Linked DNA regions of Homo sapiens: all the other regions are linked to region 6. Evidence: promoter capture Hi-C in 16 types of primary human blood cells and fetal thymus (Javierre and others, 2016). All regions are on one chromosome and are shown on one strand. Each heading gives the region's core, a stretch centred on a gene start or on the middle of the fragment in contact. The rest is flanking DNA. Distances are from core to core; before and after follow the strand shown.

Evidence for each region. The method cuts DNA at HindIII sites, captures the fragments that hold promoters and counts their contacts. A CHiCAGO score of 5 or more calls a contact.
Region 1: a contact is called between the fragment with the promoter of HERC5 here and the fragment with the promoter of TIGD2 in region 6, in 7 of 17 cell types (naive CD8 T cells, total B cells, total CD8 T cells and 4 more). The highest score is 7.2, in naive CD8 T cells.
Region 2: a contact is called between the fragment with the promoter of SNCA here and the fragment with the promoter of TIGD2 in region 6, in 14 of 17 cell types (total CD4 T cells, fetal thymus, monocytes and 11 more). The highest score is 21.2, in total CD4 T cells.
Region 3: a contact is called between a fragment that was not itself captured here and the fragment with the promoter of TIGD2 in region 6, in 1 of 17 cell types (total CD8 T cells). The highest score is 5.2, in total CD8 T cells.
Region 4: a contact is called between a fragment that was not itself captured here and the fragment with the promoter of TIGD2 in region 6, in 1 of 17 cell types (fetal thymus). The highest score is 7.5, in fetal thymus.
Region 5: a fragment that was not itself captured here is called in contact with the fragment with the promoter of TIGD2 in region 6 in 1 of 17 cell types (total CD4 T cells); the score reaches 5.2 in total CD4 T cells.

What each region holds. Positions count from the first base shown.
Region 1 is chr4:88,455,716-88,459,756 of GRCh38, reverse strand. HERC5 (HECT and RLD domain containing E3 ubiquitin protein ligase 5) reads right to left here and starts at 2,638. Exons shown (of 23, transcript NM_016323.4): 1 at 2,223-2,638; 2 at 287-410. The coding sequence starts at 2,487. All of the region lies in intron 1 of LOC102723458 (a long non-coding RNA gene), which reads left to right. RefSeq lists an enhancer at 2,579-3,008. The HindIII fragment of the contact is 3,677 bases long and covers 524-4,041 here.
Region 2 is chr4:89,835,683-89,839,280 of GRCh38, reverse strand. It overlaps SNCA (synuclein alpha), which reads left to right and starts at 2,120. Exons shown (of 6, transcript NM_000345.4): 1 at 2,120-2,319; 2 at 3,589-3,598. It overlaps SNCA-AS1 (SNCA antisense RNA 1), which reads right to left and starts at 2,880. Exons shown (of 4, transcript NR_045481.1): 1 at 2,547-2,880; 2 at 875-1,020. The HindIII fragment of the contact is 7,659 bases long and covers 232-3,598 here.
Region 3 is chr4:88,277,121-88,281,184 of GRCh38, reverse strand. It overlaps PPM1K (protein phosphatase, Mg2+/Mn2+ dependent 1K), which reads left to right. Exons shown (of 7, transcript NM_152542.5): 2 at 2,543-3,041; 3 at 3,942-4,042. The coding sequence starts at 2,602. Among named protein-coding and RNA genes, the nearest start is that of PPM1K, 5.4 kb to the left of the region's middle. The HindIII fragment of the contact is 1,892 bases long and covers 1,869-3,760 here.
Region 4 is chr4:88,597,860-88,602,067 of GRCh38, reverse strand. All of the region lies in intron 2 of HERC3 (HECT and RLD domain containing E3 ubiquitin protein ligase 3), which reads right to left. Among named protein-coding and RNA genes, the nearest start is that of HERC3, 7.5 kb to the right of the region's middle. RefSeq lists an enhancer at 267-957. The HindIII fragment of the contact is 2,120 bases long and covers 1,832-3,951 here.
Region 5 is chr4:89,904,858-89,908,795 of GRCh38, reverse strand. The region is part of intron 1 of MMRN1 (multimerin 1); the gene reads right to left. Among named protein-coding and RNA genes, the nearest start is that of MMRN1, 12 kb to the right of the region's middle. The HindIII fragment of the contact is 1,099 bases long and covers 1,300-2,398 here.
Region 6 is chr4:89,110,193-89,114,006 of GRCh38, reverse strand. It overlaps TIGD2 (tigger transposable element derived 2), which reads right to left and starts at 2,474. Exons shown (of 2, transcript NM_145715.3): 1 at 2,124-2,474; 2 at 1-1,940. The coding sequence starts at 1,032. RefSeq lists a silencer at 2,217-2,666 and enhancers at 2,747-2,826, 2,857-2,966. The HindIII fragment of the contact is 10,355 bases long and covers 990-3,814 here.

The sequences.
Region 1 (4,041 bases), core at 1,389-3,888, 650 kb after region 6:
TTCCAGAAATTTAACTTATAGGATTATTGTGAGGATCAAATGAGTTAATGAATAGGAAAGTCCAATTTAGGGCTAGGCAGACTATTTAATCATTTCCTTTAAATGCCAAAACAACACATGATACCTGCCCTGGGGGACATAAGGACTTTACTGGTCAGTTCAGAATTTATTATTTACTTAAGATGCTACTATATAAAGCAGGGGACAAGAATCAGATATTTCCTACAGAAATTATTATTGTCTTTTGATTAAAATTAATTTTTAATAAAAGAAAAAAGTTCCCTACCTTAGATGTTTCATGCTATAGTTGTCATACTCAAATGGTTTTCCATCTGATGAGAGAATCAGCATGTGCTCTGCTCCTTGGTCCACGGAATGTATCTTCATGTTTTTTCCTAATTTAATGCATTCTACAGAGCAAATCCAACCAGGAACTATTGTCACTTTGATTATTACCCACTGTATTACTAACTTCATTATAATACACTTAAAACATCTGGGAAAAATTTCAACTAGACAAGCTTTGACTTACCATGAACTTCTCTTAAGAAAATTCAGGTAGGCAAAGCAAATCAGGAAAGACAACGGTCTTGACATAGATTTTTTTTAATTAGAAAAAATATTGATGTATACTTTGTTGTAAATGGAACATACCCTTAAAATATCCAATTAAATATCTGCTTTTAGGTTCTTGTTTATTAAGACGAACGAAATTTGAAATGACAAAGATGAAAAGGTCTATAAGAAAATATAACTTTAAGACAACATAATCTCATTTCAAGAACAAATAGTGTATTCTGAAACACATTCCTTTCTCCCAAAAAGCAAATAACAGTAATAAACACTTCCCGACAGTTACCAATAGAAACCAATGCCTATATTCTTAAAAGGAAGGATTATGTTTGGGGGACTATCTTTAAAGAGGATGCTGTTGAAAACATTTTTCATTGGCATTAGTGCACATTTGGCCCTTTCTGAAGTTAAGAGATTAAACTGTCCACTAGTAAAAATGTACTCTTATTTAATTTGTTCACAAAAATTAAACTAGGATAGTTTTGGGACCTTGTTTCATCTTCAGTGCTAATGAAATAGAATCTATTCGTGTAAAAATCTCAAAGCACAAACCATATTACAAATGCTAGGGGAACCAAAACAGTTTGGTAATAAGAAATGGTCCAGCAGACTAACGGTTTCTTTTAAAGAGTCTCAGCATTTCAAATCAGTTGAAAAAAAGGAAGTATTAAGAAATGGTATTGGGACATAGGCTAAGCCTTTGGAAAAGCAAATAAATCTAGCTCCCCTCCTACCTCAGTACTGAAAATTCCAAGCGTACGAAAAATTTTAACTTAAAAAAAAAAACCTTAAAATTACTACAAAAATGAGTACATTTTTTAAAACACTGGGAGTGTGGATAGCTTTCCAGCCTAACATAAAACCCATAAGCCTTAACAGACAAAAAAATTGACAGACTACCCCCCAAAAAATGCACTAAAAACAACATGCACAAAAGGCAAAGTGAGAAAAATATTACATGTACGACGTGCAAAAGGCTATTCTTATTCAATATTCAAATACCTCTTCCATACAAATAAGAAAAAGATTTAACAACTCAAATTTCTAAAAGCCAGGCAAAGATAAACAGGCAATTTACCGAAAAAGGAACGCAAACGTCCAGTAGTTAAACGCAAAATAAACTCGCAGCAAGATACCAATTTCTTCACTCCACAGATGGGCAAAATTTTAAAGAACGCGGGCAACTATTTCCCCCACTTCGATGAGAATGTGGGAGAAGTGCAACTGAAGGCCAAGGTAAAATCCCATCACTGAGAACGACTCCCAAAGTTGGAGCAGTGACTACTTTCTCAAAACGAGACAGTGGGAGATGCGGCGGGCGGGGGACGGGGGTACAAACTTGAACAGAAACCTATGAGAAAGCCAGACTGGCTAAAAGGATGAAGACGGTGCCCGCATGCCCCGCACCGGCCACTTTGCTGAGCGGAGGATCCGCTGGTCGCCAGTATCCCGCTCACCCCGCGCCTGACACTGACCGGGATAAAAGACAGCTCAGGTGCGCCGTCGGCGAAACTATCCGAGCCAGGCGCGCGTCTGCGGCCTTCTGGGCTCTCCTCCCTCAGGCGCGGACCCCCGGCTGCCCGCCCCTCACAGCCCTCAGCCCTCACCCCTCACAGCCCTCACAGCCCTCACACACCAGCCCCACTCACTCGGCGTCCGGGCGCCGCCGCTCCCGGCGAGCAGCTGGTGAACCTGGACGCCCGCCCCGCCGCGTTCCAAGACCGCGAGGCGCCCCGGCGAGCAGCAGAGTTGGCGCGTCACCTCCACCCTCCGGAGCAGCGCGCGGTGGAGGCCCGCGGCGCTGGGAAAGAGCCAGAGCTGTGCGCCCGGAGACTTCGCGGGCTGGGTCGCGGCGGCCTTGCCCGCGGTCGAGCGCCCGTTGCGCCGCGACTTCCTCCGCGACCTCCGCTCCATCGCCGCTTTGCGGGGTCCCAGGCCCAGAGGCGAGAGGAGAGAACGCCTGGTCCCGGGACTGAGCGCGCCCACTGCCTCAGGCGTTGCGCTGCAGAGCGGGAACCAGCTGCGCGCAGCTGCGTGGCGTCGGGGAACCGCAGCCTCAGCTACTGAGCCCCTGCCGGGACGCCACGCCCCCCACGTGCTGTTTGGGGGCGGGGCCTGCAGCTCCAGTGGAAAACGAAACATAATGTTTGTTGTTGTTTTTAGGGGGCGGAATCGAAAAGGAAAAGGAAACTGTAATGAGAGTGACTTGGCAGGCGGCCAAAGGCAACAGGTCGTTGGCTGGGGTAAAGGCCGATGGGCTGGACTGAGAAAGTGTCCCCGGGCGGGCAGCGGCCACCTTAACTCCTGGACGGAATGGCTTTCGAGGAAACGCTGCAGTTCCACTAGGAGGCACCCTGACACACGCATTTCCAGAGGGAGGGATAACGGAAGCCAAAGTTTGTTAAGCGTTGTGCGCCGCGGCCGGGCGCGGTGATTCACGCCTGTAATCCCAGCACTTTGGGGGGCCGAGGCGGGCGGATCACGACGTCAGGAGATCGAGACCATTCTGGCTAACACGGTGAAACCCCGTCTCTACTAAAAATACAAAAACAAAATTAGCTGGGCGTGGTGGCGGGCGCCTGTAGTCCCAGCTACTCGGGAGGCTGAGGTGGGAGAATGGCGGGAACCCGGGAGGCGGAGTTTGCAGTGAGCCGAGATTGCGCCACTGCACTCCAGCCTGGGCGACAGAGCGAGACTATGTATCAAAAAAAAAAATGCGTTGTGCGCCGGGCTGAAACCGGCATAAAACTGGGCAGAGCTATGCAGGCAGCTACCCTCCCCCCCACCCCTACCCCCACCCCCACCCCCCTCGTGCCCGCTCCGCTACGTATTCCCGTATTCCCGGGTGCCTGGCAACAGTGATGTGCTTTAGGCCTTTTTTAGAATGCATACAAACGGAACCATATCTAAGTGATGTCTGGCTTTTTTAACTTAGCACAATGCTTTGAGATTCATACTATTGTGTTTAATTAGTAATTCATTTGTGTTATTGTTGAATGGTAGTCTATCATATGGGTAAGCCACAGTTTATTTATCCATTCACCAATTGATGGGCCTGTCGGTTGTAGGGAACAGGAGAAAACTTCCCCTTTGCCCTCTGAAGGGTCACCGAAAATCAACTGACAAGGCTGGGCCTGGGCTCCTGCCTGTAACCCCAGCCCTTTTTTAGCCCAAGGCAGGAGGATCTCTTCTTTGTGAAGTGTGTATTCAAATCTTTTGACCATTTATTTATTAGCTAGCTTGACTTTTTATCTAAGAGTTCTTTATATATTATTGAGTTCTTTATATGTTTCATACCATGTTCTTTATTAGCTATACGTTTTGAAATGTTTTCTACCTGTCTGTGGCTTGCCTCTTCATTTTAAGTGTCTTTTGAAGCACTGAAGTTTTCAATTTTGATGTAATTTATCCATTTTTTTCTTTTACATAGTTCATACCTTTTTTGTCCTACTTAAGACATTTTTGCTA
Region 2 (3,598 bases), core at 871-3,370, 730 kb before region 6:
CTGTCTGGAATGATGAAAATGTCCTGTGTCTTCAAAATAGTGTGGGTTACACTAATGCATGGCTTTTTCAAAACTGATTTAAAGGGACACAACATCTGAGCATTTCCCTAGGTGTAAATTACACTGCAATTTTAAAGAATCATCTAATGATATTGTGGTTATTTTTAAACAGTCCTTAAATTTTGTGGATGCATACTGAATGTTTACAGCTGAAAAGATATATATAAAGCTTGAATTTGGTAAAAAAAAAAAAAAAAGAGGGAGGATTGGTAGTGATAAAGTGAGTGGACTTATGGATGAGACATGATCAGCCATGCATTGAAAAAATGTAAAAGTTGGATGATCTTCACATGAGAGTCCTTTATTCTGTCTACTTTTGCATATGTTTGAATATTTCCCATAACAAAAAGTTGAAAATAGAGTGATCACATGAGTTAATCTCCTAATTTACAAAAAAGAAAACTGGAAACAGAAGGAGAACAAAACTTGTTCAAGGTCTCAAAGCCAGACAGCAAACTAGCTCCCAAGTCCAACCTTCTTGCTCTGGTCCTAAGCAAACAAAAAATATTAATATGAGCTACTGCATTAAGGAAAGTCTGCTTTTCCAAAGGGCAGACCAATAGTTCAAGGAAGAGTTTAAATAATAAATATTTGTGATCTTACTTTCATGCTTTTCTATTTTCCACTGAACACATATGCATTATCTTCTATATGTCTTTTATGTATAATCATTTGCTTCCTGTTCCTTGTGGTTTTAAAGTTGTTTTGTATGTTTAAATTTGATTTTACTCAAATTTCAGAACCCAAATTAGCGCAAGAATCAGACAAAGCATAACTTTCTATAAATATAAAAACAATTAAAAAAAAAACATACAGCAAAAACGAGTTGTTGTTTCCCCCCTCCTCTTCCAGTGCTTAACTAATCTTCCGAATCCAGGCACAGAAAGCAAAGGCTTTCTGCTAGTGGGAGGAGCTTGCTTCTCCATTCTGGTGTGATCCAGGAACAGCTGTCTTCCAGCTCTGAAAGAGGTGAAAATGTGTTAAGCGATGCAAAAATTGTCTTGAAGTTCGCGTGTGTATGTCTGTGTGCATGTGCGTGTGGTGGGTGGGGGGAGAGAAAAGGGGGTGTCAATTCTGAGGGCAACGAGAATCAGAAGTCAGAAAGGTGAGTGGTGTGTAGCATCTCCCTTTCAGAAGGGGCTGAAGAAGAAATTGGATATGATGGTCCGGTAGGCTAAATCACGCTGGATTTGTCTCCCAGATAAAGGGAGGTCTGCAAAGTAAGTCCCATTTCTAGAGCGAAAAGCCTTAGGACCGCTTGTTTTAGACGGCTGGGGAATATTTATTCCTTGTTCCACTGATGGGAAAATCAGCGTCTGGCAGGCGCTGATTGGTGGAAAGGAAAATGGTGATAGTGGCGTGGAAAGAGGATTTGCTGAGCCTTCTCCTGCCTCCTCAACCTGTGACTCTTCCTTAGTAGTCTCCCTTTCACCCTCAGGACCCTTTCCGGCTCTTCCTAGATTAAGAGCAAACGAAAACCTTGAAGATATTTGAACTAAAGCGACCCCTAACGTTGTAACCTGTGACCGTGATTAAATTTCAGCGATGCGAGGGCAAAGCGCTCTCGGCGGTGCGGTGTGAGCCACCTCCCGGCGCTGCCTGTCTCCTCCAGCAGCTCCCCAAGGGATAGGCTCTGCCCTTGGTGGTCGACCCTCAGGCCCTCGGCTCTCCCAGGGCGACTCTGACGAGGGGTAGGGGGTGGTCCCCGGGAGGACCCAGAGGAAAGGCGGGGACAAGAAGGGAGGGGAAGGGGAAAGAGGAAGAGGCATCATCCCTAGCCCAACCGCTCCCGATCTCCACAAGAGTGCTCGTGACCCTAAACTTAACGTGAGGCGCAAAAGCGCCCCCACTTTCCCGCCTTGCGCGGCCAGGCAGGCGGCTGGAGTTGATGGCTCACCCCGCGCCCCCTGCCCCATCCCCATCCGAGATAGGGACGAGGAGCACGCTGCAGGGAAAGCAGCGAGCGCCGGGAGAGGGGCGGGCAGAAGCGCTGACAAATCAGCGGTGGGGGCGGAGAGCCGAGGAGAAGGAGAAGGAGGAGGACTAGGAGGAGGAGGACGGCGACGACCAGAAGGGGCCCAAGAGAGGGGGCGAGCGACCGAGCGCCGCGACGCGGAAGTGAGGTGCGTGCGGGCTGCAGCGCAGACCCCGGCCCGGCCCCTCCGAGAGCGTCCTGGGCGCTCCCTCACGCCTTGCCTTCAAGCCTTCTGCCTTTCCACCCTCGTGAGCGGAGAACTGGGAGTGGCCATTCGACGACAGGTTAGCGGGTTTGCCTCCCACTCCCCCAGCCTCGCGTCGCCGGCTCACAGCGGCCTCCTCTGGGGACAGTCCCCCCCGGGTGCCGCCTCCGCCCTTCCTGTGCGCTCCTTTTCCTTCTTCTTTCCTATTAAATATTATTTGGGAATTGTTTAAATTTTTTTTTTAAAAAAAGAGAGAGGCGGGGAGGAGTCGGAGTTGTGGAGAAGCAGAGGGACTCAGGTAAGTACCTGTGGATCTAAACGGGCGTCTTTGGAAATCCTGGAGAACGCCGGATGGGAGACGAATGGTCGTGGGCACCGGGAGGGGGTGGTGCTGCCATGAGGACCCGCTGGGCCAGGTCTCTGGGAGGTGAGTACTTGTCCCTTTGGGGAGCCTAAGGAAAGAGACTTGACCTGGCTTTCGTCCTGCTTCTGATATTCCCTTCTCCACAAGGGCTGAGAGATTAGGCTGCTTCTCCGGGATCCGCTTTTCCCCGGGAAACGCGAGGATGCTCCATGGAGCGTGAGCATCCAACTTTTCTCTCACATAAAATCTGTCTGCCCGCTCTCTTGGTTTTTCTCTGTAAAGTAAGCAAGCTGCGTTTGGCAAATAATGAAATGGAAGTGCAAGGAGGCCAAGTCAACAGGTGGTAACGGGTTAACAAGTGCTGGCGCGGGGTCCGCTAGGGTGGAGGCTGAGAACGCCCCCTCGGGTGGCTGGCGCGGGGTTGGAGACGGCCCGCGAGTGTGAGCGGCGCCTGCTCAGGGTAGATAGCTGAGGGCGGGGGTGGATGTTGGATGGATTAGAACCATCACACTTGGGCCTGCTGTTTGCCTGAGTTTGAACCACACCCCGAGTGAGCAGTTAGTTCTGTTGCCTACGCCTTTCCACCATCAACCTGTTAGCCTTCTTCTGGGATTCATGTTAAGGATACCCCTGACCCTAAGCCTCCAGCTTCCATGCTTCTAACTCATACTGTTACCCTTTAGACCCCGGGAATTTAAAAAAGGGGTTAATCTTTTCATGCAACTCCACTTCTGAAATGCAGTAATAACAACTCAGAGGATTCATCCTAATCCGTGGTTAGGTGGCTAGACTTTTACTAGCCAAGATGGATGGGAGATGCTAAATTTTTAATGCCAGAGCTAAAAATGTCTGCTTTGTCCAATGGTTAAATGAGTGTACACTTAAAAGAGTCTCACACTTTGGAGGGTTTCTCATGATTTTTCAGTGTTTTTTGTTTATTTTTCCCCGAAAGTTCTCATTCAAAGTGTATTTTATGTTTTCCAGTGTGGTGTAA
Region 3 (4,064 bases), core at 1,565-4,064, 830 kb after region 6:
ATCTCAAGTTAACTCTTCAAATACAAATATTTTCTAATAATTGTATTTCTTTAAAGTTCTTTTTTTTTTCTATATGATATAAAGCTGCTTTGGGAATTATCTCCAAATAATTAGTACTTCCATTACCTGGTAGATTGTATTGTAGTTTGAAGTCTCAATTCATCACCTATAATTAACATAATTGGGTTTTTAAATTTTTTTTAACACACCATTGCTGGCTTGAATCCATAATTGTTGCTGAATAAAATCTAACTCTCAATTAGAAGCAAAAGAACAAACATCTCTTGCAATGGAATGTGTTATTTCTCTCTCTCGCTCTCTCTCTCTTTTTTTAAATAGACAATGTCTTGCTCCATTGCTCAGGCTGGAGTGCAGTGGTGTGATCTTAGCTCACTGCAGCCTCTGCCTCCCAGGCTCAAGCAATCTGTCCACCTCATTTTTGTACTTTTTGTAGAGACAGGGTTTCACCATGTTGCCCAGGGTAGTCTCAAACTCCTGGGCTCAAGCAGTCCTCCCACCTCAGCCCCCTTAGTAGCTGGAACTACAGGCATGCGGAACCACGCCTGACTAATTTTTGTATTTTTAGTGGAGACAGGGTTTTGCAAAGTTGCCCACTGGTCTCCAACTCTTGGCCTCAAGTGATTTGCCTACCTCGGCCTCTCAAAGTGCTGGGATTACAAGTGTGAGCCACCGGGTCCGGCCATGTTAATTCTCTTTGATAACCAGAGATGCTGTGTCTCTGCCACTCTCCAACCCCCCAACAATGTTGTCTTACGAAGAAATGAATTTCAGCCTTCTATGCAGGATCTTGGCCAAAAGGCCAAGAAGGGATGACTTCCTAAGTCTTTGATGATACATTACTTGTTTTGGTGGCCATCTTTATTCTAAATTCTGTGACAGCAGAGCTCATATTTTTTTTAATTGCTTAAATATCTAAAGATTGAGGCCAGTCTCTGTGGCGCATGCCTGTAATTCCAATACTTTGGGAGGCTGAGGTGGGAGGATCACTTGAAGCCAGGAGTTCAAGAGCAGACTGGGCAACAAAGTGAGAACCCATATCTACAAGAAATTAAAACAAATAAACACCTAAGGATGTTCTTTGGAACCTCATTCTTTCTTTTGACTGTTTTACCCACCGAAAGAAGTAATGGCCTTCCCTATACATAGCTAGACTGATTTCCAAAAATTCATTGGAAAGTAATTGTTTGAAATCTGTAGTGCATTTTCTCATAACTGCACTCAAGCTGGGTTTCATTTGTGTATGTTTATACCTTTTGGAAAGATACATTTTTTCAAGTTCATTTTTTATTGTGAAATAATTTAAACATAAGATTGAGAATAATATACTATCTGTAGACCATCCACCAACATCATCAAACCTTAGTATTCTGCCATCTTTTCAAGTTGATTTTAAAAGAATAAAGTAATAGAACAAAATCCTATGGAGACAAATTTTTTATTTGTGTGGAAAATTCCCAGAAACAGCTCTACCTGCAGTGGGGTAGGAGTTCCCCTGGGTAACACCCTGTAATGCCAAGAGAGGTTTTAGGATTGAGTTTCAGGGTGGAGTCCAGAAATGGGGGTGTAAAGTAATCGTTTCAAAGAAGTGTAGTCTCAAGTGTCGTTGGGTTGTTAGGGTTGGGGAAAGGAGAGCTGCAGCTGTGAATGTAAATATATAGATCACTCGTTCAGAAATCAGGGCTGCTTGTCACAAATGCAGTGCTGCCAGGTTCCTGAGATCATACCCACATACCCTCCTAGTGAGAGAGTCTGCTAGGATGGGGAGCATCAAAACTGGCTTATCTTTGTGCCTCTGGGGTGTTTGCACACCAATTTATATTTACCATAGTAATATAGTATGTAAAGCTTAGTAGGTTAAGAAATGTTAAAATAAAACTTAGATTTATCCTAGATTATGTTTTTGTTAAAACTTGGCCATTCTTTGGAAACAGAACTATTTTAAGTATTCTATTAGCCTGTTATTTTTTCCTGAAGAGACTTTGTTGCTATTGTTAATATTTATCCCTACCTTTTCTTTAAAGCAATAGAGTTAATGAAGGGAAGTATATTTATTTATACCTGTATTCTGTGTTCTTGCTACTAGAAGTGTAACTTGGGGACCAGCAGCTTCTGTATCACCAGGGTGTTGGTTAGAAATGCAGAGTGACTCCACCCCATAGCCACTGGGTCAGAACATGCATTTTAACAAGTGATTGCAGGTTCAAGTTTAAGAGATACATGTTCTGTGTATGTGCACACTGTTAAATTTTTATAGAATTTAAATGCTGTGAATGCGGTAGGAAAATCGATTCATTTTTGATCCACTGTTCTTAGAAGCAGGCTACTGGATGCCTACCCAATATATAACATAAATATATGTATTTTCTGTCAAATCCTTTATGAGCTTCATTTTTGGTAATATTTGATGACATATCAGTTATATTCAAAATTTCTGATGGTCTCTCTCTCTCTGTCTCTCTCCCTCTCCTCCTCTGCCCCTCTCTCCCTCTGTCCCCTGTGACTTGCATCATTTTTCTTGAAGACATTCCATTATTGTTCCATTGACCTTTCCCTCATCACTGAGTCCTTTGGAGCTGAGTTATGTCAACAGCTGCCTTAATTACTTTGGTCAGAAGTGGTGGGAACCAGGTGAGAAGGAGAGTGCTGCTAAGCTCCCGCCTGCTGCAGGACGACAGGCGGGTGACACCCACGTGCCACAGCTCCACTTCAGAGCCTAGGTGTTCTCGGTTTGACCCAGATGGTAGTGGGAGTCCAGCTACCTGGGACAATTTTGGGATCTGGGATAACCGCATTGATGAGCCAATTCTGCTGCCACCCAGCATTAAGTATGGCAAGCCAATTCCCAAAATCAGCTTGGAAAATGTGGGGTGCGCCTCACAGATTGGCAAACGGAAAGAGAATGAAGATCGGTTTGACTTCGCTCAGCTGACAGATGAGGTCCTGTACTTTGCAGTGTATGATGGACACGGTGGACCTGCAGCAGCTGATTTCTGTCATACCCACATGGAGAAATGTATTATGTATGTACAATGACTTTCACTCCTGACTTTGCAGTTCCTATACTTCCTACTTAAACTTTCACCCTTTGGCTGAGGCTTCCAGCGTAAACATAGTTACTTGAGTGGTTGCATGCTGCTGCTTCACGAATGAGCAGTAGTTTAAGTGTGCCATTTATTACTTATGGTTATCACAATTTCAGAAATGCATGTTTTAACAACTCCCCTGGGGAAAGCATTAACCAAAATCTATAGCACTTAATTTGTGATCATTTTAAGTGAAGTGGCATAATGTACATGAGATAACCTATGAGAAGCATTTACTCCCATCAGTGTAGGACAGATAAGTGCTTCAGTAAATGGTAATTACTCTTTCAAGTGGTGTGAATAGCTTTGAATACCTGACTTGTTGAAAATAGCTTTGGATGATTGGCATTAGTGTGGAAAAATGCATTTAATGCAGGCATTTTGGAGCTCTTCCGTTTATTTACTTCAACTAGTATTAATGCATTTTTGAGGATCACATTACTGCTAAAATTGAAAGAGGGAGAACATGTGATGGAGTTACGACCATGTGACTATTTTTGACTTCCCAGTGACCATTTCTTGACTTCCTGTGTATACCGCATTCCACGAAAGAACTCACAATGGGAAGGAACTCTCGACCTCTCAGGGTTGTGGTAGTGAGGATCAATTCTTCAAGGACAAGGACTTGGACTTTCATTGTTGTGCCCTTAAAAGCTTATCACAGTGCCTGATACTTTGTGGATTCTCAATAGGTATTCCTTAGCCAGTAGGTCTTCAGCATTTGACAGGAAAATCCTGAGGCCCGTTGTGTGGAATGACTGCTAGCTAGAGTAACAGTGAGGAGAAAAACCTATTGTAAAATGATTGTTTAAGGCTCTTTTTTTCCTCCCCACAAAGGGATTTGCTTCCTAAGGAGAAGAACTTGGAAACTCTGTTGACCTTGGCTTTTCTAGAAATAGATAAAGCCTTTTCGAGTCATGCCCGCCTGTCTGCTGATGGTATGTAAAACTATCACATTCC
Region 4 (4,208 bases), core at 1,642-4,141, 510 kb after region 6:
TTTTTTTTTTTTGAGACGGAGTCTCGCTCTGTCGCCCAGGCTGGAGTGCAGTGGCGGGATCTCGGCTCACTGCAAGCTCCGCCTCCCGGGTTCACGCCATTCTCCTGCCTCAGCCTCCCAAGTAGCTGGGACTACAGGCGCCCGCCACTACGCCCGGCTAATTTTTTGTATTTTTAGTAGAGACGGGGTTTCACCGTTTTAGCCGGGATGGTCTCGATCTCCTGACCTCGTGATCCGCCCGCCTCGGCCTCCCAAAGTGCTGGGATTACAGGCGTAAGCCACCGCGCCCGGCCCCTGAATATCCTTTTCTAATCATACTTCTTAAACATGCTAGTCTCTCCATATTAAGAATCACTGTTCTAGGTCCTACAGGTCAAAATATCAGGATTTCAAGACAAGATTGCAGACTTCAAAGGTGTCTTCCCTAATCTTTTCATTGGTACATTCATTTCATCCTAATGAAAAGAGGATGGATTCTAACAGAAATGGTGAAGACTTACTTTGAATTATAATACTAGGCGAACACATCAAAGCTGAATATATCAGCCAATCTACAGGAGAGAACTGTCAACATATGAAGGAGACAGCTAATTGGCTCTTCTATGCAAAGTCAGCTTTTAAAATGACAAACTCTTTTCTCCCAAGATAAAAGCATGCCCAAATGGCTACAAATTAAAGATTACAACACAGAGGAAGCTCGTACTTTCAACCTCTCTTGACAACAATTACAGTACTTTGGATTTAACTCAATGGCCTTAATTGGTATATACCAATTTTAAAACTGCCTTATTGTAATCCTGAGGTATGCTTTGAACTCTTGAGGCTTTCAGGAAAGGCATGAAAAGGCCCAAAATAAAATATAAAACTGAATCTCAATTTGCTGTCTTACACAGAAAGTTCTGCTTCTTCCCAAGATTTTTATTCCTTGTCTAGACTCTACACTAAAAAAGTATTAAGATTAAATGTTATTCTTTGAATTAACTACAAATATTGTGGAGAGGGAAGTAGAAATAAAATGAAAAACTGGCAGGGTAGTGGTGGTGGTGGTTGGTGGTCTAATGATACACTAATAGACCAGCAAGCTCACATAATCTAGAAATAATTTATTTTTCCCAACTTGCTCAATTGCTATTATCCACATTAATGGATTTTTTCGTTTTTAGTATTTCATAAATTTGTCTTATCTCTCCTACCTTCTAGTGTTCTTAGGTGCAAGAAGGTTGTGATGTGCCTTACAGAGAAAAAAATGTGTATTAGGTAAGTTTCTTTCATGCATGAGTTATAGTGTTGGCTGTGAGTTCAATGTTAATGAATCAACAAGCGGGTACATCCAAAATATGGAACAGGAAATCTGCTGATCTGTATGTGAGGCCTCCCCTGGAGAGAGCTAAAGTAATATCCAGAGTACATAATGAAGCTATAGATACAATGGAAAAGCAATTAAATCTGTGGATTCATGAGATGACAACCCATAAAAAATAAAAATCACAGTGGATAGCACTGATGTGAGGCTGAAAGCCAAAAACACTGTCACATTACACAGGGTCAAGAAAATGTTAAACCCTTCTCAACTAGTGTTTTATTACCAAGAAATATTGTGTATATTAGTAAGAAATATATATTAAATAGGCTGTCTAGACAGAAACACACATAAAAAAAGGTTATGCGTCAGCTGGCTGATAAAAATCTCTTGACCACAGCCTACAAGAACCTAATCCTGTATTTCCTCAGAAACAATGGCTCTGTATTCACTAATATGGTATTCACCATGACTTTACAGAACCTAACTATATACAGAGTATAACAAGTCCCTTCTTTGTTTACTTAAGCTTATTTATTTATGCTTGTTTGAATCAGGTTTCTTTCACTTGCAATAAAAAGAAACTCCTGACTGATAATATTAATAATGACATTATTAATAATAACAGCAGATAAGACCTGATTTGAGCTTACTCTGAGTCTGGTACTTTTCTATGTGCTTCACAGATGTTGGCTCATTTCATCTTCTATGAGACAGGTACTGCCATTATCTCTAATTTACAGATGAAGAAAGTGAAACTAACAAAAAAAAGATGAAGTAAAGGAAAAGAAAGAGACACTATGCTGTGCTGTATAGTAAGGAGCTTAGAAAGTAGATAACCAAAAGGCCAGACTTCCCAATGTGTCTGCACCACTCTCCAGAGAAAACAGGGACCCTGATCAGTCAACCTGGCTATCTGACCCGCTAAGTAATTCTTTCCTAAAAGTGGATGGGTGGATCAGATTCCATAACAGTTGTCACTAAATTCACCCAACCAATTGCCTTGCTTAGCAAGCAACCTTAAATAACTTGGTTTCTAGGGCAGATTCTACTACAGGGATAGAATACTGTGACCAGGTAACCAAAGCATCTCAGTCTTATTAGGATTTCTAATTCTCATTATTAATTTGGCGTCCTGGGTCTATCAGCTTTTTTTGTAGTTTATCTGGCACGAGTCAGTCCTTGAGAGTCATCTGAGTTCTGGGTGCTTTGGCCAAGCACAATCCTGTGTAAACAGCCTGAAGTATGGCCTCATCCCTGACTGACTAGTAAAAACAATTTATGAAAAAAGATAATAAAAAGGACTATTGTTCAAGAAAACTTCAAAAATTCTTCCAACTGAGTTACAGTAATGGAATCTTCAATTGGTCAAATAAAAACTGCCCACCAAGAGAATTAAATAGCAACCACAAAAAAGATGTGTATCTGTAAATAAACTATCAATCCTAACTATAAATACGGCCTAGGTCATCACAATGCTCTGCCGGAACTAAAGAAAAAAGCAACTAAAATCATCTAGCTTTCAGGAGAGAAGTTCAACACATTGGAGAGAAGCCAGCCATTAGCACAGCTTTCACTTCAAAGTACACTCCAGTTGGACCCCTAAATCTTGTAGCTGCTGATGTCCATGACTTTAAAGGTCTAGTTTCAGCAACGGTCTGCATCGCTGGGCATTTTGATCTCCAAGGTCCTTACACCCATTTTTCCTCATTCACTCTCTTGCTTGCTCCTAGAAGAGCAGAATCTTTTATTTTCCTTCAAAATACACAATTATGAAATTCGCTGCAAAATATAGGACTACACTTCCCTCAGCACCTACACCAGCCCCGCTTGGCTGCATTTCCTGCCTCTTATTTCCCCATGACAAAACAAAAGGAAGGACTACTTTTGAAGTACAACTTTCTCTCAATGTCAACCTGGCACTTTCCTGAGTCCTTCTCATCTATTCTTGGTAAGAGATTCAAGATAATCTTAGCAGAGCTTAAGGGTCAAAGGAACTAAAATCCAAGCCCTACATTAACCACGTTAGCTGTGAAACCTGAGGAAAGATGTTTACCCACCTTAAGCTCCAAAATCAGGAGAAGGTGCTAGAGTGTTGTGAGGATTAATGAGAAAATGCATGTAAAAAGGGCTTAGCATGGTGCCTGGCATGTAGTAGTAAGTGACCAGTAAATGTCAGCTGCTTTAGTCAATGTTACTCCTACTCCTAGTGCTCTTCTTTGAGATTTCAGCAGACAGGACAATTCCCAAAAGAGGATGGGATTGTGACTCCTGTCTTCCTCACTGCAATTAGCACTAGCTGCATTCTGCCAAATCTGCACTACAGCAAAGTAGCATCACAACCATCTGCCATAACTTTCATGAAAGGGATTTGAGGTTGATAGGAGGAAGTTTTTTTGTGTGCATTTGCTTTTAAATTCTGGAGAGGGCATGGGTGGAGGGCGGTGGGGAGATAAATCTCTTTTTACTAGCTCTAGTGAGTTGAATGCTAAACGACAACCTTCAGTTCCTAAACTTTGTCTTATGATAAGACTATGCGACTATGCACACAGCAGCCTAACAACTCATTCTTATCCCTTTGTTTGAAAGGCACTGAGACCAAAATAACACTCAGGCAGGACTTCTAATCTCATTTAAAATAGGGATAAGCTTCCTTTCAAGTAAGCTTAGAAGCAATTACCTGAATGTTGTATATATGAAGAGGGTCTCTTTCAACAGCAGGAAAAGACAATGTCCAAAACCTTCAGTGCTTTGCAGATACTCCCCAAATTCAGGCTTTAAATAAATGTAGGGCCAAAACTAAAATGCAGAATTAACTCTGGTAACAAAGAAGATTCATTTTAATGACTTGCCTTATTATCAAAAATGTTCCTACCAAAGACAGAAATGTCATAGAAGGCAAAGAGAA
Region 5 (3,938 bases), core at 600-3,099, 800 kb before region 6:
GTCTAGATGCCGATTATTATAATTAAAAAGACAATTCAGCAATGTAATCAAATATAAATGTTTATGAGTTAATACAATACTAATTTATATTAATTCAATCACAAAATTAAGATCAGTTACATTTCTCTGTACCAACAACAAATTAAAAAAGACACTATTAACAGTAGCAAAAAATAACAACAAGAATAATGTACCTAAGAATAAATTCAGCAAAAGAAGTGTTAGATTTAATAAGTAAAAATTTTAAACTTTATTGAAAAGTTTTAAAGAAAAAGCCAATGAATCATGTTAATTAATGGGAAACCCAATGCAAATATGTCAATTTTCCTCAAATTAATCTTCAAATTCTATGAATTTTCACAACAAATCTTAGCTTGATATAAGGAGTTAAATGAGCTTATTCTATAATTTTTCATATAATAAACTAAAAACATAAATTTCAGAGAATTTTGTCCCTGGCTATATAAACTATCAGATTTACCTTTTATGGCAAAAATTATAAATCTGGACAAGATGTATAAAGCAACAGTTTTCAGATGTTGGGCAGTAGACAATGCAGTGATATGATTCTTGAGGGAAAATATGTGATGTTAGCTCCACATTCAATCTAGTTTTGTGCCTGGGAACAATTTTCAAACTGCATCACAGAAGGATGGATTCCAGAAAAGACACCAAGTAAAGAAAATAGAGATCTGAGTTTGGGGATACTAGGATGGTTAAAAAATGTGTTAAAGATTAATAAAATGAGGGGGCCAGACAGAAATATCATTTTAAAAGTCAATATAGGGGTGCCCTTGAATCTTGGACTGAATACTATTTTGTGCTTGCAAACAACAAAATCCAGACACTAATAACATAGTATCCACAATGCCCAGCATGAAAAGCAGACAAAACTAACTATGAGAAAAAGCAGCAAAACAGGACCAGTATATGGAGTAAAAATCCAGTAAATAGAAAAAAAAAAAACAAAAAAACAGGCATGACATAGAAGTTGGAATTAGCAACCCATGACTTTAAAACAATTAACCATTAAATAGAACGAGAAGTATACAATATGTGAATTAAAAATGGACTGAATGTTCTTAACAGAAATTTGGACACTTTAGAAAGGAAGACCAATAAACTCGAAGATAAGGAATAGAAACCAGCCAAACTGAAGTACAGAGAAAAAAATTCAAAAACATAAATGAGCAAAACTGAAGTGGTCCTAAGATTGGGCAGAATAAACATGAGAAGAAAAAAAGGGAAAATTTCCTAAAATTGTTTTTTAAAAAAATCAACCCTCATATCTAAGAAGCTTAATGAATTCCAAGAGGATAAACACAAAGTAAAACCTCACTTAAGTACATCATACACAAATTCCAGAAAACAACACATAAAAAGAAAAAAAGATATGTTAATTGCTTGATTTAATCATTCCACATTGTCATTCATCTAAGGCAGAGAAATTGAGCTCTACAGAACTTATTGTGTTCTTTTGAATGTGATGTTTAAAATTTCAGGCCCCTTAAAGAAGTAAGAAGACATGCTGGCACATGTTGTTAAATCACTGGTGACAATTGAGGCAAAAATAATGTAAAACAAAGAACTGGAAAAAGCAAGAAATAAAAATAAAAAGATTTAAAATTGAGAGGACCACAATAAAGGGATCTTTAAAAAATTAACTAGATTCCTCATGCAAATGCAATGATGATCCTAATTACTGAGACTGACTCACTTCAACAGAAGCACAATTAAATTGTCACATGAACATTCTCTGAATGACTGTGGAGGAGGGAGTGTGGGGCAGAAACAACACAAGTATCACCGTCACTACATGCTCAGGGCTTTGAAAAGAAAAAAAGTATATTCATTCTCTGTGAGGCAAAATGATAGTGTCACCTGGCAGAGACCTTTTGAAATCCTAAATATTAAAACAATCTCATGACTAAAATAGTTGAGGAGACAAAGAAGCAGATCAGCAGACTGCTCATGGCCCAGCAATCTTTGATCCAGGGTAAATTAGAAGAACTATCCACAGCAAAAGAGCCCCTGGTGTGACTCATAATTAGGTTTATGCTACCAATGAAATAAGCTCATTAAGGGATATTAAAAATGTAAATATAATTTTAAAGCCAAATTATCTGAAAATGTAGGTTTAAAAATAGAAAATGAAGCATGGCAAAATGGTGATGGGCAGTTTAAAGGCAAATGCAATGATCCCAGACAAGCATTTTGCTTAAACCTAGTAATCCTTTGTACCTTTCTAGACTGATTATGGTGGATGGAGAGCAGTTACTTTGAAGTGTTTAGTTTTCCATGGGGTCATAACCTTCCATCCAGCAGACCACATTTGGGATTCTCTTTCAGGGTAATAACTCTGTTGCTTTTGTGCAGCAACATGTACTGAAAAAAAGCTTGTATTGATTCTTTGGATTTTCCAAGTTAATAGGTAAAAGGTTTGTTCTAGGGAAAAGCAGACATCTTTGGTTATGAGCAAATGCCTAGCTTGTTGAACATATAAAATAGAGAGGGGAAAGGATTCTATTATGATTCATAAAACTCAAAGACTTGTGGATAATGAACTAAGAGAAGGCATCATAAATAAACAGTTTACTATATTTTTTATTTTGACATTTTAGAAACTCAGTCTTTCAGGAAACTAGTGAAAAGACTAATGTAAAAAACTTCCATTAATTGACTAAATAATGGCCCAGTCATACCAATTCTTATCCTGAACTGAGTGAGAGAGGACTGAAGCAAAAAAGATGGCTTTAAATAATGACCACACAGAATATTTTCCCAAGAAATAAAGGGATAATCTAAGAACTAACATTATTCAGTTATACTAGTTCTTAGAACCCAGATGAATAGATTGCTTGTCATCTAATTCAAAAGAAGCTAAATACTTAAACTTTCATATTAATAAACTGTGGCTTTAATTGACACAATAGTATGAAAATACCAAGTCCTGAGGATGTTCATTAGAAGTCAAGGTAAGACAATAAAATCGCCACCATAAACCAAGCCAATGGTATATAATTTTCTTTGAGAAGTGGGAGAAGATTTTGTTTCTGGGGGAGACTTTATGGATTGAATGACCTTTGTTTCCCATCATGCCCTTTAACGTAGAGATTTAAAAGGGAACAAGAGGAAAACAAAATAGGACAAGACAGACATAGCTGCTTCTGAAAATTAACATTCTCTTGAAGAAATAAGATTATCAGGTGACTCTAGTAATAACCCCTCACACCTCACCTAATACCCACCCATGCGTCTCTGACTTGAGAAAGTATAAGATCTCAAATGTCCATTTCTTTACCTTGTACTTAAAAATGACTACAGTTTGCAAATGACAACATATGAATACATTAATGAATTCATAAATGCTTCAGGGGAAGAACTAAGTCTCTGGTGGGACTTAATTTAGAGAGAAAAATATTGATCCCTCATAAGAGAATAATTTATTCATATTATTCCTAATTTACCTCATGAAAAATACTATCATCTTAATTATAAGATTATTATTGCATGAAAATACAACCAAACAAAACTTAACTGTTTGACCATTACTAATGGCAAAATTATGAAATAATAGTGTTGTACATCATTTTACACTAAACTCCTGAAGTCCATAGTGATAAAATCCCCACCCAATTCAGTGATAAGTGGGAAAACATATCCTAAATATATAAAAGTTAGTCTTATATTTTTTTATAAGTGTTTACTACTTTTTGCAAATCCAACCTGCTCATCTCATTCTCAACTCTATAAGTCTGACATATGTGGATAATTCCCCCCCTCTCTTTTTAAAAAATATCACTTAGTAAAAAATAATTTGTTTAAAGAGGAAAATAGAATTTTAAAGGTAACTATATCTTAACAAACCTATTTTTATTGGTGTCAATAATCAGGGAAAAAATTCAGCTAAACCCTCATTTGTTTTAACGGTTCAATTA
Region 6 (3,814 bases), core at 1,225-3,724:
CTGGAGAAGTCCTGCTCGATAGTATCTTTTTACAGTGGCTAGAACTCCCTGGCTCATTGGTTGAATCAGACTTGTGACATTTGGTGGCAAATACTTCACAATTATTCTGCCATCATCTGAACTCAACATTTCTTCATTTGGACGTGCTGGGGGGAAATCTAAAAGAAGCACTGCTTTTTCTAAAAGTCCCTTGGATTTCAAATGCTTCTGTACCTGTGGCACAAAGTACTTTTCAAACCACTGTCTGAAAACAGACTGTTCTATCCATGCACCTTTTTGACTGTAATATGTCACAGGAAGGTTTGAAAGGTCAGTGCCTTTGAATGCTCGGGGCTTTTTGGCCTTCCCCACAACACAAAGATTAAGTTTGTGTAAACCTGTGGCATTTGCGCAACACATAATGATGATTCTCTCTCTGCTTGACCTACACCCAGAAGTACTTTGGTCAGTTTCAAGAGTTAATGTCCTTGATGGTAGACATTTCCAAAACAATCCAGTTTGATCAGCACCATAAATTTGCTCTGGTTGTAGATTCTCTTTTTCAACAAATTCCTGAAAGCTACCACAAAATTCTCTGGCAGCAGTTTCATCTCCTTTTAATTTTGTTCCTTTACCAGCAGCCTTTGGAATACCATGGCGCTGCTTAAATCGAGTTAGCCAGCCTGACGATGCATTAAAATCACCTTCCATTCCCAAAGCATCAAAAAAGAACTTGGCTTGTTTTGCACAAATCGTTCCGGACACTGGAATCCCATCTGTTTTCTGTTGGTTAAACCACTCTATCATAACTCTATCAAGCTCCTCGTATGTTGATGACTTCATAGATTTACGTTTGGATACTCCACTGGTAGGATCTGAACTGTTTGCATAGTTTATAATCCTTTCTTTGTTCTTTTTAATATCACGAACTGTGGATTCACCAATTCCGTACACCACGGAAAGTTTTTTGAAAGAGATGCCTTCCTCAAGTTTCTTAATAATGTCAAGCTTGTCCTTAATTGTCAACACCACACGCTTACGTTTCCCCAACATTTTAAGTGTCTAATATTTTAGGTGATTACTAGAACAAGATAATTAACAACTAAGATTTGAATACAAAGCAACTAGAAAATGAGTTCGTAAGATTCCTCCTCTCACTTCTAGGGCCTAGATGGATAGTGACCAATTTCCTGACAAGGTCTACGTGAATCTACTTGCTATTTTAAAACTTACAAACTTCCTACAACAAAGCCTAGCGCCAATTAACTCTTATCTTCTATCTTTCTTCCTCCTCAGGGTTCAGGGTCTTTCATGAAGTGCAATCACACTAGAGGCTAGAAACTGTACTGGTAAGGCTTCTAAAACAGTACTATTGCATACTCAATTCTTGCCATCCTTGCAGGTAATGTTCTTTGCCAGAATAGCCACTAAATCTCAGGTGGAAGTATTTTAGGAAATGTGCTAGGGAGTAAACAGTTTAAGTCAAGAGAGGACTTGCAAACTTGACATACAGGAAAATACAATGGGAAAACTCACCCTCTGACTATGTGGTCTTTGTCAAGCAGTGGATTGTATGGAATGCTGTCTCTCTAGGCACGGACTCTGCTATAGGTTGCGCAAGTGAGTGCTTGTGGAAATCATACGCAAGAGAAGATGACCCGGACAGAAGTGAACAGTGCAAATAAGGTGAAAGTGGAACAGGCAGAAAACTCTACTTTAAAAGCGACTTAAACCTACTAGATTTGGCAGCTGGAAAGGAGGATAGTGGACATGTGATGTCACATTACTAAAGAAAGCATCAAAAAAACTGCATCGGTGGAAATGAGGACCCAAGGTAGAGGCTATGGGGTGGCAGGCTCGGTGAAGATGATGTTACAATAATCCTGGTGAAAGACGATCCTCGATGGACCAACAGAAGCAGTTCCTGTGGGGGCTGTAGAGATACTCGGAGGCTCCGAAACCTAAAGGAAAATACCAAAAACATTTTCTTTCAATTCAACATCAGGATCTGTGGCATTATCCACATTTATCCTGCAACTATGTTGAGAAAATTAACGCCTCCTATCAATGTGATAGCTAAATACGACAAATAATGCTTTCAGGCATAATCTGGGGTGACAGAGAGAGGGACCTGAAGAGCCTACCTCCTGAAATTAAGAGGTCAGGGAGAAGCCGTGTTAGCGAGGGCCTCTCCCCGCTGGGCGAGCTTCAGAGCGCGGGACGTCTTTCCTCCCGCGGAGGGAGCCCGGATTCCGCCTGGACGCCGGCGACCAGGATGTCACTGCTGCAGCCAGCCAGCCAGCGGGCGGCCGCTTGGCACAGGGAACGCCAGTCCGCCGGCCCCGGGCATCGCCCTGGGACCGCCTGCGCGGCGCCCAGACCACACTAAGCGCAAATGGAGTCTCCTGAGGCAGGCTGGCACTGGTGGCCCGGCAGCGGCGAGGGACGAGCGGAGAGGGACGAGCGTCGCCGCCGGAGCCGGAAGGCGGGGGATTAGAGAGCACGCGCGCGCCCCCGCAGAACGTTGTGCCGGCGAGGGGGCGGGGCCTGCGCGGGTGAGCGCACGCGGCCCGGGGGAGGGGACTCCGGCGAGCGGGCGGGAGGGGCGGGGGCCCGGCAGGGGTGCGTCTCTAGGCGCTGCGTGGGTTCCACTCACCGCCTGGCCGTTTCGGGGCCGCAGTGCCTCCCTGGCCGGCAGGGGGAGGCACACGCTCGCCTTGTCCTGGCGCTTTTCCCAGTGGCCCGGCTCTGCCGACGAGGCTCTTTTCTCCCTAGGGGGAAATTTTAAAATCTCACCCCCCCAGTGCTGGGGGGAAAGCGGAGGATCCTCGCGTGCCGGGAGCGGGCTGCGAATGGGGCAGGGCGAGCGCACGTGGGGCGTGTTTACAAACAGCAGCCGCGCCGCCTTGCGGAGGCGGTCCAGGTGTCGGAGCCCAGAGTCAGCGCGCGTGGAAAGTGCTAGCCCGAGCGAGGATCATGAGGCACGGTAGGAGCCGGCGGACGTGGGTTCCGGGCAGGAGCTGGGGCGTTCGCTCGGCAACACCCAGCCGGACAAGCCCAGGGTGCCGAGGCGCGGCGGGCTGCGGTAGAGCCGAGTGTCGGGTCAGCGCTCCCCGGTGCTGATGCTCCGAAACTCGTCACAGTCGCTGTAGAGACGGACCCTTTGCAAAATCGACAGCACCTGGGAGACCCTTGAGCCAGTGGGAGGCGTCGTGGTAAATTTCCTGCCGTGCCTCGACGCCCGGGGCTTCTCAAGTGGAATCGGGGAATTGCGCTTTGACTGATACTCCCTTTATTTGTTTCCAACGGAGACATCTGCGGAAGGGTCACCGCCTTCCTGGAGGAGAGAGTGGTGCACCTCCACCTTGCACCACCTGTTTCCTGGGAAACGCGGTCAGGCTGCCTTCCTTTCCGTCTTGTGTGTGCGTGTCAGTTTGAAAAATTGGAAATTCTTCAGTGAATTATCTCTTCCATATGAACATAAATGTAACCTTTTCGTTAACACAAAGTAACATAGTAATTCGTCATTTCTTTGACAAGGCCATATACTGTTTCTGGAATTTCAGAAACTTGGAGATGGAAATCAAAGCGAGCATACTGTAGAAAACAGATGTTGATTCTAAGCCTTCTGTTTGACTCCGCCGCCAAAACTGCTCAATTGCCTTTCTCAACATAGCAGCCTTCCACTATCTGGCATGACAGAAATTCTTTGATCTAGTTATGTTGTGAGGTTGTAAGTGGCTTTTGGAGAATACCTGCTTTTAGACCTCCCCTCTTCCCTGCCTTCCATTTGGCTTCCAACAAGCCAGTCCCTTTCTGGAAGTCCTGGTTGCCT